7 separate regions of the Homo sapiens genome follow, and regions 1, 2, 3, 4, 5 and 7 are each linked to region 6. Evidence: promoter capture Hi-C in 16 types of primary human blood cells and fetal thymus (Javierre and others, 2016). All regions are on one chromosome and are shown on one strand. Each heading gives the region's core, a stretch centred on a gene start or on the middle of the fragment in contact. The rest is flanking DNA. Distances are from core to core; before and after follow the strand shown.

Evidence for each region. The method cuts DNA at HindIII sites, captures the fragments that hold promoters and counts their contacts. A CHiCAGO score of 5 or more calls a contact.
Region 1: a fragment that was not itself captured here is called in contact with the fragment with the promoter of DLEU7 in region 6 in 1 of 17 cell types (naive CD4 T cells); the score reaches 5.4 in naive CD4 T cells.
Region 2: a fragment that was not itself captured here is called in contact with the fragment with the promoter of DLEU7 in region 6 in 8 of 17 cell types (total CD8 T cells, total B cells, total CD4 T cells and 5 more); the score reaches 9.4 in total CD8 T cells.
Region 3: a fragment that was not itself captured here is called in contact with the fragment with the promoter of DLEU7 in region 6 in 2 of 17 cell types (naive B cells and total B cells); the score reaches 5.5 in naive B cells.
Region 4: a fragment that was not itself captured here is called in contact with the fragment with the promoter of DLEU7 in region 6 in 1 of 17 cell types (fetal thymus); the score reaches 5.4 in fetal thymus.
Region 5: a contact is called between a fragment that was not itself captured here and the fragment with the promoter of DLEU7 in region 6, in 12 of 17 cell types (naive CD8 T cells, total CD4 T cells, naive B cells and 9 more). The highest score is 12.2, in naive CD8 T cells.
Region 7: a contact is called between a fragment that was not itself captured here and the fragment with the promoter of DLEU7 in region 6, in 1 of 17 cell types (naive B cells). The highest score is 8.1, in naive B cells.

The regions. Positions count from the first base shown.
Region 1 is chr13:49,917,788-49,920,487 of GRCh38, forward strand. The region is part of intron 4 of SPRYD7 (SPRY domain containing 7); the gene reads right to left. Among named protein-coding and RNA genes, the nearest start is that of SPRYD7, 17 kb to the right of the region's middle. The HindIII fragment of the contact is 2,530 bases long and covers 174-2,700 here.
Region 2 is chr13:49,957,244-49,960,043 of GRCh38, forward strand. No RefSeq gene overlaps it. Among named protein-coding and RNA genes, the nearest start is that of SPRYD7, 22 kb to the left of the region's middle. The HindIII fragment of the contact is 336 bases long and covers 1,331-1,666 here.
Region 3 is chr13:50,029,038-50,031,772 of GRCh38, forward strand. It overlaps DLEU2 (deleted in lymphocytic leukemia 2), which reads right to left. Exons shown (of 14, transcript NR_152566.1): 9 at 241-455. Among named protein-coding and RNA genes, the nearest start is that of KCNRG, 15 kb to the left of the region's middle. The HindIII fragment of the contact is 848 bases long and covers 933-1,780 here.
Region 4 is chr13:50,101,905-50,104,770 of GRCh38, forward strand. The region is part of intron 1 of DLEU2 (deleted in lymphocytic leukemia 2); the gene reads right to left. All of the region lies in intron 2 of DLEU1 (deleted in lymphocytic leukemia 1), which reads left to right. Among named protein-coding and RNA genes, the nearest start is that of DLEU1, 21 kb to the left of the region's middle. The HindIII fragment of the contact is 1,737 bases long and covers 572-2,308 here.
Region 5 is chr13:49,978,963-49,981,940 of GRCh38, forward strand. No RefSeq gene overlaps it. Among named protein-coding and RNA genes, the nearest start is that of MIR3613, 16 kb to the right of the region's middle. The HindIII fragment of the contact is 4,590 bases long and covers 1-2,978 here.
Region 6 is chr13:50,842,245-50,844,944 of GRCh38, forward strand. DLEU7 (deleted in lymphocytic leukemia 7) reads right to left here and starts at 1,448. Exons shown (of 2, transcript NM_001306135.2): 1 at 944-1,448. The coding sequence starts at 1,402. All of the region lies in intron 4 of DLEU7-AS1 (DLEU7 antisense RNA 1), which reads left to right. RefSeq lists an enhancer at 378-1,304. The HindIII fragment of the contact is 9,888 bases long and covers 1-2,700 here.
Region 7 is chr13:49,939,175-49,942,108 of GRCh38, forward strand. No RefSeq gene overlaps it. Among named protein-coding and RNA genes, the nearest start is that of SPRYD7, 4.3 kb to the left of the region's middle. The HindIII fragment of the contact is 2,353 bases long and covers 316-2,668 here.

The sequences.
Region 1 (2,700 bases), core at 189-2,688, 920 kb before region 6:
TTCCATTTACTCAAGTAAATAAAGGAATTGCTTTTAGGCTTACCCAATATGCAACACTAAATTGAGTTTTAAAACACACATTTACATGCAAGGACACAGAAGGTAAAATGACTGAAAAGTAATTTTAGGAGAAAAGAAGGCTAATGAAAACCTTAAACTAAAAGGTAATCACAAGCTTTGGCTATTATCATATTATTATTTATATTTGTTATTGTATAATTCTGACATCCCAGTTTGTCATCATTGATACTGCTATTTTTATTTTAGTATTTTAATTTTATTTTGCTTTTGAGACAGGGTCTTACTCTGGTGCCAAGGCTGGAGTGCAGCGGCACGATGATCACTGCTCACAGGAGACTTGACCTCCCCGGCTCAAGAGATCCTCTCAGCTCAGCCTCTCAAGTAGCTGGGACTACAGGCACGTACAACCACACCTGGATAATTTTAAAATTTTTTGTCGAGACGTGTTCTCACTATGTTGCTCAAGGCTGGTCTTCAACTCCTGGACTCGAGCAACTCTTACCTCAGCCTCCCAAAGTGCTGGGATTACAGGCATGAGTCATTGCACCAGTGCTGCTTTTATAGTAAACTACAACAAATGTAATTAAATTAGTTCTTTTTTTTTTTTTTCTTTTTTTTGAGATGGAGTCTTGCTCTGTCACCCAGGCTGGAGCACAGTGGTGTGATCTCGGCTCACTGCAACCTCTGCCTCCTGGGTTCAAGTGATTCTCCGCCTCACCCTCCTGAGTAGTTGCGATTACAGGTGTGTGCCACCACACACGGTTTCACCATGTTGGCCAGGCTAGTCTTGAACTCCAGACCTCAAGTGACCCACCTGTCTTGGCCTCCCAAACTGCTGGGATTACAGGCATGAGCCACCGTGCCTGGCCTAATTAGTTATTTTTCTTTCTTTTTTAATTTTATTTTATTTTATTTTTTTTTGTGGAGACTAAGTCTTGCTCTGTCGCCCAGGCTGGAGTGCAATGGCATGATCTCGGCTCACTGCAACCTCCATCTCCTGGGTTCAAGTGATTTTCCTGTCTCAGCCTCCCATGTAACTGGGATTACAGGAGTGCGCTACCACGTCTGGCTAATTTTTTGTATTTTTAGTAGAGATGGGGTTTCACCATGTTGGCCAGGCTGGTCTCAAACTCCTGACATCAAGTGATCCACCGGCTTCGGCCTCCCAAAGTGTTGGGATTATAGGTGTGAGCCACCACGCCAGTCCTAATTAGTTCTTATTATAACCCAAATTTAAGAACTTAAATGAGAAAATATTTTTAGACTTACAAAACCAAAGGCAGAAAAATCATATACCTGTTTACTTAAAGTTGATAATACAAAATAGGCTGGACACGGTGGCTCATGCCTATAATCTCAGCACTTTGGGAGGCCGAGGTGGGCAGATCACTTGAGCTCAGGAGTTCGAGATCAGCCTGGCCAACATGGTGAAACCCCATCTCTAGTAAAAATATAAAAGTTGGCCAGGTGCTCACACCTATAATCCCAGCACTTTGGAAGGCCGAGGCGGGCAGAACAGAAGGTCAAGAGATCAAGACCATCCTGGCCAACATGGTGAAACCCCATCTCTACTAAAAATACAAAAATTAGCTGGGTGTGGTGGTGCGTGCTTGTAGTCCCATCTACTCGGGAGGCTGAGGCAGGAGAATCGCTTGAACCTGGGAGGCGGAGGTTTCAGTGAGCCAAGATCGTGCCACTGCACTCCAGTCTGGCGATGGAATGAGACTCTGTCTCAAAAAAAACAAAACAATACAAAAAAACCCCAAAAGTTAGCTGGGTGTGGTGATACACACCTGTAATCCCAGCTACTCTGGAGGCTGAGGCACGAGAATATCTTGAACCCAGGAGGCGGAGGCAGCAGTGAGCCAAGATCACAACACTGCACTCCAGTCTGGGTGACAGAGTGAGACTCTGTCTCAAAAAAAAAAAAAAAAAAAAGTTGATAGTATAAAAAATAAAGCAGAATGGATTGATAAAGACATTGTGGTTATGTTTTTCTAAAAAAAAAAAAAGAAAGAGACCTTTTTTTCGAGATACAAATAAAACATTTATGAATAAAATTATATATTACCTGGCATTTGCCTCAAAATAACCCAAGGAGGGTAAGTGAAGAACAATAGCAGCATTGGGGGTGGGGGGGTGTAGATGAAACCCGATTGGTTACAAGTTGATAATTGTTTGAAGCTGGCTGATGGGTATATGAGGGTTTATTATACTATTCTTTTTACTTCTGTACATGTTTGGAATTTTCTATAATAAAAATTAAGGTAGGCCGGATGCAGTGGTTCATGCCTGTAATCCCAATAGTGGTGCACACTTGTAGTCCCAGCTACTGGGGTGGCTGAGGTGGGAGGATTGCTTGAACCCAGGAGTTTGAGGCTGCAGTGAGCTGTGATCGGGCCACTGCACTCCAGCCTGGGGGACACAGCAAGACTCTGTCGCAAAACAAAACAAAACAAAACAAAACAAAACAAAAAAACAAAAAATTAAAGTTAAAATTAAAATTCTAAGTCACTATTTCCCTCAGAAGAGCATTAACATTTAAGGAATTTTGTAAGGGTTATTAATGTACAGTCTACATAAAATTCCCATCTCTAATTCCAAAATATTATTTATAATTATGTTTCCTGGCCATGCAATCATTCCCAATGACTTGCAGAAAAAGTTTTCTAAATTCAG
Region 2 (2,800 bases), core at 249-2,748, 880 kb before region 6:
TATTCCTAGAACGTTCCTCTGTTGACCACATACCTACCTTTCACACACCATCACTGGTAGGGAGGATTGGTGAGAGGCTCTCCTCTTTACACAAGGAATGTCCGTTATTTGACCAGCAGAGCTTAAGATCAACCAGGGAGATCATGATGTCATCAAGTTAATAGGAAGCAGGAGAGGATATTGATTAAAAGGGCTGACTGACATTGTAGAGGCATGGTCTCAAAAGCCTTCAAGGGAGATAGGCACTGCCACTCCTGAAGGATTGCCTGACATGAGGTGCAGAGCCTGTGTGTTGTGGGGTGACTGCATTGAGTGTCAGTGACATGAGGTACATGGGGTGCTGTAGGATACACAGATCCACACACATGGCTCAAGCTCAAGGGTTGATAGTGAACCACAGGTAGCCCAGAGCCAAGAGTTATTAAAAATCAGCATGTTATCACCATTTGACAACCCAATCTTGCACAATCTCTGGAAAGAAATACTGTGCCAACAGGAGCAATTCACTTTCCAGGTCTCCTTTTTGGATTCCAGCTCTGATTTTTGTATCTTCTCAGGGCATCTGGTCCATCCCAAGTATGGGATAGAGGGTTGTAGATTACCCCAAAAGGAAAAAGCAGAAACTAGGACACACACAGGTCCCAGTGTGGGATGGGGGCACCTCACGTGGATGGATCTGATAGCCCTTGTCAGTCCCAGGGATCAGAGGGAGACTCAGAAAACTGTGAGGAAGATACCCCAAAATACAGGGCCCCCTGGAACAAGGAAGCCAGGGAAGAGTGCCCTGCTGCCTAGATTGAAGGGCTGAAGTAATTTTAGGGCAACAAAGTTGATGATAGAAAGTTCTCTATTACTGAAGAATTCTAGTGGTTAAAGGAACTAATGAAATAATGGATCATTAATGTATGGTAAAACTATAACCTGAATAAGCCTAGTATCACTAAAAGTGGAAAACCTGACATTGTGTCTCCTAATGTGATGCAATAAGAAAACAGCACCACTTGCAAAGTATTCCTGCCTTAAAAGCTGAACCTGAATCTGATGAAATTTCTATATTTATTTTTCAGTCTATAAAAAATATGGGGGTAAAGAACAAGTTAAATAACTGTTAGAGTGCAGTCAGCTAAATACAGAATGTGGGACTGTCAAGAGCTGTGCAAGGCCTGGGATTTTGCCCCACTTATAAACTAACAAGTTAGCCTGTTTTGGTTTCATGGATGCTGGCAGGAGACAGAAGATTCCTGAGTCAGAGACAAAGGATTTTATTGCCCACAGCAAAAGTAGTATTCAGAACTTCGTGTTTGTTTGTGTCAGTCTCCATGCCCCACAAAGCTTATTGGAAGTGACACAAAGGGCTCGTGATGGATGCCTTAGAATGTAGTTGGTTGCATTAGAGGAAAGAAACACTGAGTTTGGGGCATTCATTGTTTTTAAGGCAAGTGGAAGCCAGCCTGCTGTTTCGGGGAGATATTACCCCATCCTTCAGGTTTGCTTGCTGCAAACACAATCTTGAGAAATGGCCCTGGTAAAGAATGGTCAGGGCTTTGCATTCTTGGTATGCCTAGCAAAAATATATGGGGATACTCAAGGCCAGTGACAGATTGCCTGTTGGAAAAATACACCCCTTAGCCCAATATGTTCTTGACCAAACTTGAGTTTTTACACAAGCTTGCCACTCCATCAGCCACTCTGACTAATATGACCAGAGAGGTTGGGAGCAAAACCATTTCATTTGTCTCTCCTAGGAGTTTTATAGTTTCAGGTCTTATGTTCAGGCCTTTAACACATTTTGAATTAATTTTTGTACATGGTGTAAAGTCATTTTTTAAAATTTGGACGTAATCAGTTTTCCCAACATCATTTGTTGAAGAGACTAGTCTCTCCCCCATTTTGTGGCCTTGGCACCCTCGTCAAATATCATTTGACAATATATGTGAGGGCTTATTTCTGGGCTAATTCTTCTGTTCCATTGGTCTGTGTGTCTGTCTTTATGTCAGTATAATACTATTTTGATTACTGTAGCTTTGTGATATCTTTCAAAATAGGAAGTATGAGACCTCCAGCTTTGTTTTTCTTCCTAAAGATTTTTTTGGCTATATGGGATTCTTTGAGACTTTATATGCATTTCAGGGTTTTTAAATTTTTTCTGCAAAAACAAAAAGCCATTGGAATTTTGATGGGAATTGCATTTAATTTATAGATCACTTTGGGTAGTATTGTTATTTTAACAATATTAAGCCTTCCAATCCATGAACATGGGATGTCTTTCCATTTATTTGTATCTTCTTAAATTTTTTAAAGTGATGTTTTGTAGCAGTGATACAAGAAACAGGAGGGATGAATTAATGATATTTTATTATTACAAGATATACTACCCATGATGTAGTACAGTGTTATTTGAAAGTGGACTTGCATTAATTATAAATGTATACTGCAAACTCTAGGGCAACCACTAAAGAAAGTAAAAAAAGAAGTATAAGTGACATGCCAGGAAGGAAGAGAACATGGAATCATATAAAGTGCTCAATTAAAACCACAAAAAGCAGAAAAACAGTGGAAAACAAAAACAGGAATAAAAAACAAGGGCAACAAATAGAAAGCAGTAACAAATATGATATATTAATCCAACTATATCTATAATGACTGTAAATGTTAATGATCTAAATTTTACTAAGACAAAGATTGAGTAGATCTAAAAACAAGACCTAACTATATGTTGTCTACAAGAAACACATTTTATCCCAGGCACAATGGCTCACGCCTGTAATCTCAACACTTTGGGAGGCCAAGGTGGGCAGGT
Region 3 (2,735 bases), core at 107-2,606, 810 kb before region 6:
CTTGTTTTCTTTGATTAGAAATGAGGGTAAATTATGCAAAGGAAGGAAAACAATCTCAAACATGATTATACTCATTTCCCTACCAATTCCCTAGTATCTACTCTTTGCCTTCATTATACTGTATCTACTTTACTCCTTGCTACTTCATCATGTCTTGGTTCATGTTGTTTTCTGCACTCGCAAGTTATCATTCCTTCATTTCACATAATCAATCTTAACCACTTTTTCAGCCCAGCTCACCTTTCATATCCTCTTATAAGTCTTCTCTGATAAGTTTAAGTCCACATTTCCTTCAAGCTTCTACCACACTTAAGTTAGCAAGCCAGAGTTTACATTCCATTATTCTCTACTTGTTTCTTGTATGTTAGTATAATATTCTCATACAGGTTACAGTTCTTTGCTGACAGGGACCATCTTTTATAAACTATAGTGAAGTACCGCACCTAGAGTAGGCCCTTAATAATAAAGATAATGTCACTTTAAAAATGCAAGCAGGAAACGCTTCAGGCATTTAAAAGTAGTATTTTAACAATAACTATTTTTGATTAAATAAAACTATATTCATTCTTCTTTTCAGAACTTGAAGCCTCAAATTATCACCTCAGATCATCATGCTATTAAAAAGTAGATGTGCATATGAATAAAACTGTCCAACTCTATCACTTATACACAACACAGCCATGAACAAAAGCAGCAGCCATTCTTGATAATCCAATCCCCTCTGAAACAAACAATTTCTGGCAGTAGGAGACATTTACAAATACATAGCCTTGCTAACAACCACTAGGTTATAACGGAAAAGGTTTGTAATTTGAATCCTTTAGAGTGTGCATCTTTCAAATGTGTAGTGAAATCATAAATACAATGTAATTTTGTTCAGTTTGGAATGAAGTGAAATTTTGCTTAAAGGAAATGAAGATTATTCAAGTTGAAGCTTTAGTTAACCTGCATTAGTCACTAGCATTCTACTTCCAAAAAAAAAAAAAAAAGTCAATCTTAGGAAAAATTGCAATCAAACATCAAACATCCTTGGCTTAAAACACATTCAGCACAATTTTTAAAACCTCTATACCTACATTACAGAATATAGTAGTTCACCCTTATTCACAGGAGATACCTTCCAAGACCCCTAGTAAATGCCTGAAACTGTGGATAGTATGTAACTTTATATATATATACTATGTGCTTTCCTAAAAATATATATGATAAAGTTTTATTTGTAAATTAGGTACAGTAAGATTAACAAGAATAATAGTAAAATAAAACAATTTAACAAAATGCAAGCATCACTACTCTTGTGGTTTGGGGCCATTATGAATTAAATAAGGATTATGAATTAAATAAGGATTATATGAACACAAGCACTGTAATCCTGGGGCAGTGGGTCTGATAACCATGATGGCTACTAAGTAACTAACAGGCAGATAGTATCTACGGCATAGAAACAATGGACAAAGGGATGACTGCGATCCTAGGCAAGATGGTGCAAGATTTCATCATGCTACTCAGAATGACACACAATTTGAAACTTAAACGTTGTTTATTTCTGGAGTTTTCCATTTAATATTTCCAGACTTCAGTTGACTGTGTGTAACTACATGGAAAATGGGAGACACTACTGTATTACATAAGACTTGATAATAAGGTATGTCTTTATTTATAAAATGTAATGATATTCAGCATATACTTTATTAAGGCAAGAAAATATATTGAAATATTACCATTTTTATTAATGTTTTAGAAAATATTCAAACAAGGTTTAAAATGATTATACTCCAGAAGCTTTACAGGTGTTAAATAAAATTTTTTTAAAAACTAGGCCAGGTGCAGTGGCTGATGCCTGTAATCCCAGCACTTTGGAGGGCCGAGGCGGGCGGGTCACCTGAGGTCAGGAGTTCGAGACCAGCCTGGCCAACATGGTGAAACCCCGTCTCTATAAAAATAACAAAAAAACGGCCGGGCGCGGTGGTTCATGCCTGTAATCCCAGCACTTTGGGAGGTTGAGACGGGCAGATCACAAGGTCAGGATGGTCTCAAGGTCAGGAGATTGAGACCATCTTGGCTAACACGGTGAAACCCCGTCTCTACTAAAAATACAAAAAATTAGCCAGGTGTGGTAATGGGTGCCTGTAGTTCCAGGTACTCGGGAGGCTGAAGCAGGAGAATGGCGTGAACCCAGGAGACGGAGCTTGCAGTGAGCCAAGATCACGCCACTGCACTCCAGCCTGGGCGACAGAGCAAGACTCTGTCTCAAAAAGAAAAAAAAAAAAAAAATCAGCTGGGTGTGGTGGTGCACGCATGTAATCCCAGCTACTCAGGAAGCTGAGACATGAGAATCGCTTGGTCCAGGGAGGCGGAGGTTGCAGTAAGCTGAGATCGCGCCACTGCATTCCAGCCTGGTAACAGAGTGAGACTCTGTCTCAAAATAAGTAAATAAATAAAAATAAAATAAAAGTGATTGTAAACTTCAATTAACAGAATCATCCAGAACTCCAGATTGCCCCATTGATTCAATTAAATTTTTGTCTGATAAAACTTTTAGAAATTCTTTTTCTTTTTTTTCATTTGCATTGCCTTTCCTTTAACAACTTCCAGTGGGGGTAGTTTTCCTTTTTGTTAATCACGTCTCACACAGTCAAGGTGTCGATCTGACAAAGAGTAAGAGAAATGAAATCTAACATAGTTTCTATAAATGGTAAAGTTAAACACAATTTCCAGAACTCTAAGATGATGTT
Region 4 (2,866 bases), core at 190-2,689, 740 kb before region 6:
AAATGTTTGGAAACAAAATAACATGCTACTAAATAACCTTCTAATAACCCATTGATTAAAATAGGAGTGCAGTAAAATTAGAAGGCATTTTGAGCTGAATGAAAATGAAAACAAAGCATATCAAATTTTGTGGCATGCCACTAAAGCAGTATGTAGGAAGACATAAGCAAAATGCTTATATTAGAAAATATAAAAAGTCTCAAGTTAATGAGCTTCCACCTTAAGAAATTAGAAAAGAAGAACAAATTAAACACAAAGAAACAAAAGAAATAATAAAGATCAAAGTAGAAATAAATGAAATGGAAAACAAAATAAATTGAGAGTATTAATGAAACCAAACCCTGGTTCTTTGAGATAAATAAAATTGATAAATCTTTTGCCACGCTGATCAGGAAAAAAAAAAAAAAAAGAGAGAAGACACATATTACCAATATCAGGAATGAGAGGTGAAATATGACAAATTCTACAGATACTTAAAGAATAGCAAGGGAATATTATGAAAAACCTTAAGCAAATAAAATTCAACAACTTAGATGAAATGGTCAAATTCCTTGAAAGACATAACTACCAAAGCTTACTCAAAAAGAAGTACAGCCAGGTGCAGTGGCTCACACCTGTAATCCCAGCATTTTGGGAGTTTGAGGTGGGCAGATCACTTAAGTCCAGGAGTTCGAGACCAGCCTGGGCAATGTGAAGAAACCCCATCTCTACTAAAAATACAAAAAAATTTAGCTGGGTGTGGTGGTGCATGACTGTAGTCCCAGCTACTTGGGGGGCTAAGGCGGGAGGATCGCTTGAGCTTGCGAGATTGAGCCCTGATTATGCCACTGCATTCCAGCCTGGGTGAAAGAGTGAGACCCTGTCTCAAAAAAAAAAAAAAAAAGAAAAAAAAGAAAAAAAAAAGAAAAAAAAGAAAAAAAAAAGAAAAAGAAATAGATAACTTCCAAAGCTATGTATCTATTTTTAAAAAATTAATAGTTAAAAATATTCTCACAAAGAAACACTAGTGGATTCTTCCAGACACTTAGGGATAACACTGTGTATACCAATTATATACAAATCTTCCAGAAAACTGAAGAGGAAGGAATACGTCTCAGTTTATTTTTGGGGGCCAGCATTACCCTGATACCTAAACCACACAAAGCCATTACAAGAAAAGAAAACTATAGCCCAGTTTCCCTCTTGAACATGGATGTAATAATTCTCAACGAAACTTTAACAAGTCAAATCCAACAAAATATAAGAAAGTTAATATTACTGGATGAGGTTTATCCCAAAAATATGTCATTGCTTTAAATTAAAAAATTAATCATTGTAAGTCACTATATTAAGCTAAAAAAGAAAATCTGATCATTTCAATAGACACCCAAAAAATCTGACAAAATCGTATATTTGTTCCTGATTTTAAAAAACCAAAAACAAAAAAAACAAAAAAAACAAAAAAAAAACCAAACCTGTTAGCAAACTAGGAATAGAAGGGTACTTTCTCAACCAGATAAAGGACATCTATAAAAATCCTACAGATAGCCTTATGCATAATGATGAAAAACTGCATGCTTTCCCTTTCCCCGTAAGATAAAGAATAATACAAAGATATCTGCTCTGACCACTTTCATTCAACATCAGAGGTTCTGTCCAGGGCAATCAGGCAAGAAAAAGAAATAAATCGCATTCAAGTTAGAAAGGAAGAAATACAACTGATGATAGCCATCATTCCTAAGAGTTCCCCTTGCCTCTTTATAATCCTTGCCTCCTCTTACCTCTCTCCCCAGGAAACCACTGGCCTGTTTTCTGTCACTAGAGACCAGTTTGCATTTTCTAGAACTGATATATGTGGAATCATGCAGTATGTTACTCAATTTTTTTTGTCAGTAATTGGTAGCTTATCTTGCAATCAAAGTTCATATACAACCATTTGATCTTCATTCCATTCCCTCATTAGTCCATAGAATGTCAATCAATTTTTCTTTCTTTTATTTATTTATTTTAACGAAACAGGGTCTTGTTGTGTTGCCTAGGCTGGAGTGCAGGCTTACTTCAACCTCCAACTCCTGGGCTCAGGTGATCCTCCCGCCTAAGCCTCCAGAGTAGCTGGGACTACAAGGGTGTGTCACCATGCCTGGCTAACTTTTTAAAATTTTTTGTATTGATGGGGTCTTGCCATGTTGCCCAGGCTGGTCTCGAACTCCTGAGCTCAAGACCTCCCAAAGTGCTGGGATTACAGGCATGAGCCACTGCGCCTGGACTCAATTTCTGTATGATGATGACTTTCATATGTACATCAACAGGCCAGATAGCTTATCAAGAAAGCTTCTCCTCTGTCTTCTAGTAATATCCCACTTAGATCTGACATTATTTTTTTCCTTCAAGGTATTTCTTCCAAATTTCTTGGCTGTTGTTGGTGACAACACAAGTTTTTGGACCTTTAAGTTTACAATCTTAGGTTCATTTCCTTATTTTATTTCTTCCCTATAGGTAAATGATCACTAAACTTGTTACTTCTTATAGTTACTTCTTTGTAAGGCACTGCAGATATGTTTCTTTTCATTTTTAAAATTGCCCATTTAATTCAAGCTATTAAATATCAAGCTTGTACTATATCAAGAGTACTATATATCAAGACTATAGCCTCTTGATATTTTCCCTACCCTCCCATCCTGCCATACCCATGTCTCCACTAGCCTATATAAAACATAAAATACTTTTCATCAAACTCTCTGTAGAGAAGTGTTGCTGGGCGAATAAGAAAAACCTGATTGACTAGAAAGCAAATGTAAATGTAATCTCCTTTCTTTTCAGTGATTCTACCAGAAAGGAATGAAGAACAGAACCTTCAGGAATTGAGTCACAATGCAGACAAATATCA
Region 5 (2,978 bases), core at 53-2,552, 860 kb before region 6:
AAGGATTTTAGGAGTTCAATTATTGGGCAAGGAGGGGAAAGGATCCCAGATTTAAGGACCCCTCATCAATATCCATTGGGGCTGGGAAGAAGAGTGGCTGGTTTTCCATTAGGTAGGGGGCCCAGATCACTAATAATCAGGGCGATCTGGTGAGGCAGAAGATGCCAGCAAGAAATGCCCTGGAGGGCCTGAAGCAGCTGCTGAATTCCCCATGAGCAGCTTTTCACATGCTACCTGAAGGCAGCCACTGGGAGGTTTTGAAAGAAGATACTAAGTGACTCCGCACTAGCACTTGCCACACTAGATAACCTGGTGAGAGAAGCTGCTAATTGTAATAGAGGCAGAATGTTATCTGTACTGTTTAAAACAAGTTTTCCAGGGGGAAATGAGGACAGGCCAATGCAGCCAGAAAGCACTGGGTGTTGGCTTTGCAGAAAGCTGTTAGGAACAGGGTTGCCAGGTGTCCTGTTTTGAACTGGACAGCATGGTATTTTAGCTTCTAGTGTACGAAAATGCAGTAAATGCCTGTTTTTTAAAAAAGTCATTGTTGCGGCGGGGCGCGGTGGCTTACCCCTGCAATCCCAGCACTTTGGGAGGCCAAGGTGGGCGGATCACCTAAGGTCAGGAGTTCAAGACCACCCTGACCAACATGGAGAAACCCTGTCTCTACTAAAAATACAAAAAAAAAAAAAAAAAAAAAAAAAAAAAAAAGCCAGGAATGGTGGTGCATGCCTGTAATCCCAGTTACTCAGGAGGCTGAGGCAGGAGAATCACTTGAACCCAGGATGCAGAGGTTGTGGTGAGCTGAGATTATGCCATTGCACTCCAGCCTGGGCAACAAGTGCGAAACTCCATCTAAAAAAAAAAAATCGTTATTATGGCCAGGCGCGGGGGCTCATGCCTGTAATCCTGGCACTTTGGGAGGCTGAGGTGGGTGGATCATGAGGTCAAGAAATCGAGACCATCCTGTCCAACATGGTGAAACCCTGTCTCCACTAAAAATACAAAAATTAGTTGGGCATGGTGCCACGGTGCCTGTAGTCCCAGCTACTCGGGAGGCTGAGTCAGGAGAATCGCTTGAACCTGGGAGGTGGAGGTTGCAGTGAGCCAAGATCGTGCTACTGCACTCCTGCCTGGTGACAAGAGCGAGACTCCGTCTCAAAAAAAAAAAAAAAAATCATTATTATTTCACATGTGCTTTATATCTTATGTTTTGATTTATTTTTAATCAGCAGGGGTTTGTAATTTCAGCTTTTAGTTACTCCTGCTATTAAGTATTGAATGGACAAACACTACTTAAAACAGTGTTACACTTCTTTTGAAATATGAGGAATCCTTTTATTTATCTGTGTGCAAATAACATGTTTCAACACTACTGTTAAGTATTCTGTTAAAGTACAAGTCTATCCCTTAGGAGGGGAGGGTACACTCTACAAGAAGTTTTTTTCCCCAGTCTCTATGGGGTGGTTATTTCTGTAATCCTATTTATGGATGAAGCAGGGGAAATACAGTCATCACTGGGGCAATGATAAGAGCTACTGTGCACTGAGGGTTTACCATGTGCCTGTCAGTATGGGCAGTCTATATCCTCTACCTCCTTCCTCACAGAGATCCCATGGTGGGGGGGCCCAGTTACCCTCATTTTACAGAACAGTAAACAGGCTCAGGGAGATTCAGTATTGAGGCCCCAAGCCTGGAAGTTATCCTCCATTTCTCTTTTCCTCTTTGGCCCCTCCTCCAATTTATTAACAAGTTCTGTCAGCTATAACTCCAAAATATATTTTTAAAATATGACCTTTTTTCCTACCCTAGCTCAAGTCCTCATTATCTTTCTTGCTTAGATGTCGCATTAGCCTCCAAACTGTCCCCCGGGGCCACTCTTACCCTTAGTACCATCTTCCTTCCACACAATGGGCAGGGTGGGTTTTTTTAGTTGTTGTTGTTTGTTTGTTTTTTGAGACAGGGTCTAAGTCTATTGCCCAGGCTGCAGTGCAGTGGTGTGGTCATAGCTCATTGCAGCTTCAATCTCCTGGGCTCAAGTGGTCCTCTCACTTTAGCCTTTCAAGCAGCTTAGGCTACAGGTGCATACCACCACACCTGGCTAATTTTTAATTTTTTGTAGAGATGCAGTCCCGCTATGTTTCCTAGGCTGGTTTTTTGTTTTGTTTTGTTTTGTTTTCTGAGATGGAGTCTTGCTCTTTTGCCCAGGCTGGAGTGCAGTGGTGTGATCTTGGCTCACTGCAACCTCTGCCTCCCGGGTTCAAGTGATTTTCCTGCTTCAGCCTCCTGAGTAGCTGGGACTACCAGCGCCCACCACTATGCCTGGCTAATTTTTGTATTTTTAGTAGAGTTGGGGTTTCACCATGTTGCCCAGGCTGGTCTCGAACTTCTGACCTCAGGTGATCTGCCCACCTTGGCCTCCCAAAGTGCTGGGATTACAGGTGTGAGCCACCGTGCATGGCTGCTAGGCTGGCCTTGAACTACTGGCCTATAGTGATCCTCCTGCCTCAGTCTCCCATAGCGTTGAAATTACAGGCATGAGCCACCACTCCTAGCCCAGAGTGATCTTTCTAAACTGTATATCAGATGATGTGCTCTCCAATGGCTTCTCTTCATATTTAAAATAAAACCCAAAGTCTTTTCCAGGACTTACAAGGCCGTACCTGATCTGGCTCCCCATTGCTGCATGCAAACTCTTCATTCATTCATTCAACTAATATTTACTGAGGGCCTGCCATGTGCCAGACACTCTTATAGCTGCTAGCATATTGCTTCTGTACAGAGCTCACATTCTAGTGGGAGGAGACAGTAATCAAAGAAATACAAAGTATGTCAGGTGGCGATAAGTGGCATGGAGAAAAATGAAGCAGGAAAGGAGACCAGGGAGTGCTGTGAGGCAGTGAGAGGCCACCATTTGTAATAGGATGGCCAGGAAGACTTTCCCGTGAAGGTGACATCTGAGCAGAACAACTGAAGGA
Region 6 (2,700 bases), core at 198-2,697:
AACCTTGGCTTGTACAGAATAGCAACTCTTGAGACATATTCTAAGCTCTCCTCATCACCCCTCCCCAACTCCTTCTGCTAGATGCCCCAGGGAAATAAAATACAGCAATGCTCCTGGTCAAAATCTGAAAGCCAGAATGTCTCAGAGAGATTCGTGACCTTAAACCAATTAGGTTAGTTAATGGCAAGTCCAGGACTGAAACCCAGACCCCCAGATTTCCGCAATCTCACTCAGCCTGGGAGACAGCTGCTCCCTTCCCGGGCTAAATTGGCTAACACAGTTTGGTACCTTAAGAGGAAATGTGCCCTACCTATATGAGCTGGGTGACTTAGCAAGAGTTTAGCATTTAGTATTCACGCTTTAACACCCGGGACCCACCCAGCTCTCACCCCACTTTATGAGAATGTAGGTTGACTCTGTAAGACCCCTTAGCTCTGTGGGGAATTGGATTTATGCAAAAAATAATAGTGATTCATGAATGTGAAGGAACTTTAAATAAATGTAGATGATTTCATCATACAAAAGGCAGAAGGGACTTAGTAAGTGTATTTAAGGCTCTGGAGGAAGCGTTATTAATTTGGAAAGTGGGTGGGGGGAGCTGTCCTCTATCCCTACAAGCTGCACGTGTGGAAAGGGCCTTTCTAGCGCAGGAAGCTGATTTATGTGAGAGAGGAAGGAGTTCCAGGGGGAGGTTTTGGCAAGGCAGTCCCCACATCTCGGTTGTGCCAGCCAGGCGGGCCTCAGGTGGGTCTGGGGCTCCCTGCCCCTCCTGCTGAGTCCCCAGAGTGTCCCCCGCCCCCTTCCTTCTCCCACTGGGGCTGAATCACAGTGGGCAGCAGTGTTTGGGATCCTGCGATCCACCCATCGCCATCCCAGCAGCCCCACCCTTGGAGGATGGGAGGTTACCCTGCACGCCAGAGGGGATGGCGGGGGCCAGACTCACCTTCAGGTGAATGGGAAAGGACCGCTCCTGCTGGAGGGGCCCCAGCAGCGTCTGCTCCACGCTGACCAGCTCCGAAGTCGAGTCCACCACGCGGGCCAGCGCGCTGCGCATCGCCATCTGGGCCAGGGTGCAGGGCCCGCGGTCCCGGGGGAAGGGCAGCAACTCGGCGCCCCCCTCAGCGCCTCGCACTACCTCCTCCTCTGGGGAGTTCGCCCGCGCCGCGGTCCGCCGACTCCTGGTCCCCACGCCCCCGCCCCGCTCCTCGCGCCCGGGCCCCGGCCGGGCCCGCGGCGGGCCTGAGCGACGGGCTGGAGCGGTGGACACGTGGTCTGGGTCCCGCGGGTTCCCGGGGGCGACTGGACCGTCCCCCCAGCCCCACTCCTGCTGCAGCAGCTGCAAGGTCTGCAGAGCCACCATTTGGTGGCTGATGGAGGCCACTAAGGGCGCAGGGCTGGCCATCGCCTCCGCTGGCGGCCCGGCGCGCTCCGCGTGCAGGTGGAGCAGCAGCGAGGGAGGCGGGGGCGTTGGGGTCGCCAAGGTCACATTTTCTAACCCGCGGCTCCTCGGCCTCTGGGTCTCACAGCGTGTGTGGTCGGCCCCGCCCCCGGCTCTGAATCGGTGACCCGTGCTGGCCTCTGCCTTCGCCTGAAGTCCGAATCAGGCGTGTTCTGACCCAAAGCTGCCTGAAGCGCTGCTCGGTGTGCACTTGAAAATCAGCGAAATGCTGAGCGTTGCTTCTTCCCTCTCTCCAGGGCTTTGATGAGAAAACGTGCTGCTTTGTGCGGGCGCATCCATCGGCGGGGATACCCCGCCCCCACCTCCTTCGAAGGATGCCTGCCAATGACCACTGAGGTCTGGGAGGTGGGGGTGCAAAAGACCCACTCTAGGGCAAAAGTACGAAGGGCTCTAGAAAAACTTGCAAAAGGAAGACTGTGCCTTTCCCAACCCGAGGGGAATTTTCAGAAACTTGTTGAAGCAGCCTTCAAGGCCTTGCATCCCCCAAACAAAAGAAGGAGGAGTTGTGTATCTGGAAGTTCTGCTCTTCTCTGCTTTGCTGGGTGCCACTTGAGCACCGAGAGCCTGGTGGCTGAACTAGCATCAGCAAGCCTCAAGGCCCAGGCCTGGCACTGCCCAGAAAAGCCTAAATGTTTTTTTGTGACACTCCCAAAAGACTTAGGCAGCAAGGTTGAAGTTAATCCTTTTATGAGCCATGAACTTAGGGACAGCTGTACAAATAGTTGCTGTTTTTAATTAAACCCAACATGGCTACTTCCTTAACTTAGAAAAAAGCGACTAGCAATGTTATGCTTTGATAGATTGGAAACCATGGGTGTGTGATCACACTTAAGAAAATAGAAGATATTTGAGAGGAGTGGTATGGAAAACCAGTCCGGAGCAGCATTGTTCCTGCTTGCTTTCTGCAAGGAAAACCACTAGACAACCCAACAGCCCAGTAAAGCCAGGGCAATGGTGCATGCCCACGACAGACAGGTGGGCCCTGGCAGACCTGAGGATGGAATTGCATTACTCCTTTGGGAGCCAGACTGCACCCTTGGTGCTGTGCAGATCTGGAGAGGCTTTTGAGTGAAAAGGCCACACTGGTTAGTCTGTGAGCACAAAAGGATCATCAGAAGAGATATGGAGAGGGATGTTGGGTCCTTTAAGGTTTCCTTAACCCTGGGATAGTATGACCCCATATAATCCTCCCAACTTGCCAGCAAAGGTTCCTTCTCCTTCCCAGTGCTTTCTTCGCCTAT
Region 7 (2,934 bases), core at 242-2,741, 900 kb before region 6:
AACAGACTTCCCTGTCTTGGCAGATTAACACCATCCATGAGCTCACTTTTCCTTCTAATATCTGGGATTCTAATATCCATTCATTATTACTTTCAAAGGAATTATCCTCTCTTTTTGAAAAGCACAACGTTAAAGATGTTTTGACACTCTTTCACAGCTATCGCTTTAAATAACAATCACAAATAAAGCCAAAAATAGTTTCTCAAGGTCATTTATCTAAGTCATAAGCAATAAGAAAGAATGACTACTTCAAAAAAAGAGTCTGTCTGCTTCCAAGACATGCCAGGAACTCGAGAACTGAGAACAATAATGTAAAGCTTGTGTTTCAGAGTTGAGATTAGCATTATGCTTAAGATTTTCTTTAATGTTTTTTATGCCAGCTGGACGTCTTCTGTTAGTGAATTTCCCATTCTGTACTGGGTCATACGAAATGAGTTTTTAAAAACTCATTAATCAGTTATTAAACAAAACATTTTTCCTTAGACTAATCCAAACCACATTTGTGATCTTTTTAAAAATCAGAAACATTAACAAAAACTCATTTTTCTAAAAACTGACATATTTCTGGAGCCTTGACCAATTCATTATTATAATTTTGAGTAACTAATAGTGATTGACATTTATGTAGTGCTTATTATTGCCAGGCACTGTTCTAAGTGTTTTTTAAAAATAAACTAATTTAGTCTTTGTAACAACCATGTGAGGGAAAAACTATCCTCCACTTTACAGATGAGGAAGCTGAAGAAAAAATAAGAAATGTACTCAAAAGTTGCACAGTCAATGAAGGATGAAGCTAAATTCAAACAGACATTCTGGCTCTAGGGTCTGTGTTCTTAACCACTCTGCAAACTGCCTCCTAGGGTGTTACATTTAAAAATACATTCCTAGGTCTGGTGCGGTGGTTCACGCCTGTAATCCCAGCACTTTGGGAGGCCGAGGGATATGGACTGCCTGAGCTCAGGAGTTCGAAACCAGCCTGGGCAACATGGTGAAACCCTGTCTCTACTAAAAACAAACAAAAAAATTAGCCGGGCATGGCAGTGTGTGCCTGTAATCCCAGCTACTTGGGAGGCTGAGGCAGGAGAATCGCTTGAACCCAGAGGCGGAGGTTGCAGTGAACCAAGATCGTGCCATTGCACTCCAGCCTGGGTGACAGAGCAAGACTCTATCTCAAAAAAAAAATAAAAAAATAAAAAATGAATATACATTCCTAATTTGTATTTGTCTCCTTCTATCCCCTTTCCTCAGAGACTGACATTTAAATTTACTTGGCATGAATTGTGCTCATTTAATCTGGATTTCCTGAATTATAAGTTATATTACCTAGATTGAACAACCAAAAATAAATAAGGAAAATAACGTCAACCTTGTAACTGCAACAGACTGCCATTAGTTGGTTCTCTTAGCGGTGCCTTTGAATATTAATATTTTGCAGGTTTGTCCTTAACAGGCTGTCTCTACCGGAAAAAAAAAACGATATTTAGTACTTTTTTTCTTCTTTTTCTTTTTTTGAGACAGGGTCTCACTCTGTTGCCCAGACTGGAGTGCAGTGGCACCACCACGCCTGGCTAATTTTTTGTGTTTTTTATAGAGATGGGGTTTCACCATGTTGCCCAGGCTGGTCTTGAACTCCTAGGCTCAAGGGATCCACTCACCTTGGCCTCCCGAAGCGCTGGGATTATAGGCATGAGCCACCCTGCCTGGCCTGTTTAGTACTTTTTTTTTTTTTTTGAGACAGAGTCTTACTCTTGTCGCCCAGGCTGGAGTGCAATGGTGCGATCTCAGTTCACTGCAGCCTCTGTCTCCTGGGATCAATCGATTCTTCTGCCTCAGCCTCCTGAGTAGCTGGGATTACCGACGCCCGCCACCACAACCAGCTAATTTTTGTATTTTTAGTAGAAACGCACTTTGGGAGGCTGAGGAGGGCGAATCACCTGAAGTCAGGAGTTTGAGACCAGCCTGGTCAACATAGTACTTTTAATTGCTAAGACAGGTAAACCAGGTTGGAGACTTGGAAAATGCAGAGACTTGGCATTAGGAAGAAAAAGAAGCTGGGGTAAAATAAAGGAATTTGAAAAAGGTACAAAAGAAATAAAAATAGAACAATTTTTTTAATATTTAAAATGAAGAAAAAGCAATAGCAAGTGCTACATAAAAAAGGTCTCAGAGAATAGAAAATGTGATTTACCAAAAACTTTCAACCTAGAACTGTACCTTATTCTGCTTACCTTCCATGGAAAATAAAGCAGACTGTCATAAACCAAGGGGATTTCTGTGATCCCTGCCCAACCTCAAGTTCCCTTACTCGAAATGCAAGTACCCTAGTGTATTTCTAAGTACTTTTCCTTGCCAATTTAGATTCTAAGTACTACTGTGGCAATAATTAGCGAAAATAGATACTGAGGATACAAAAGGGAGACAAAGCAAAGGTCAAAACCAAAGTAGTTTTTTGCATTTTCAAAAGAAATAAAGGAAGATGAGGACAAGTAAAGTTCGTCCTTGGATCTATGCTCCTTATTAACAGGAGGGCATTTAAACCTGTGACTTTGTAGAAAGGGCTGATGAGAAGTGTGTACAAAGTTTTCATGGCCAAAGATAAGGCTACATAATCTGGTATTATGGGAGAAAGGCTGGAGAACACTTAGCTGTGCCAAATAGTTCAAATAAAAGCTTCCCAAAGCATCTCAAGCATTCAAGTGATTCTGTGTCTTTGAAGTACAGTAGGGGTCAAGGAGCAAGAAGTCACCATCTCCAGATTATAAAGTGAAAAAGTACTCGACATTTGCAGAAAGGACCAGACAGAAGAAAAAAACACTTCTGGGTATATATAATATCTGCAACCAAACAAAATTATAAATATTTTGTTGAAATTGTGAGAAAGACCCTAAAATATTTCTAGTAACAAGGAAGGTCACATGGATTATTAAAATGTAC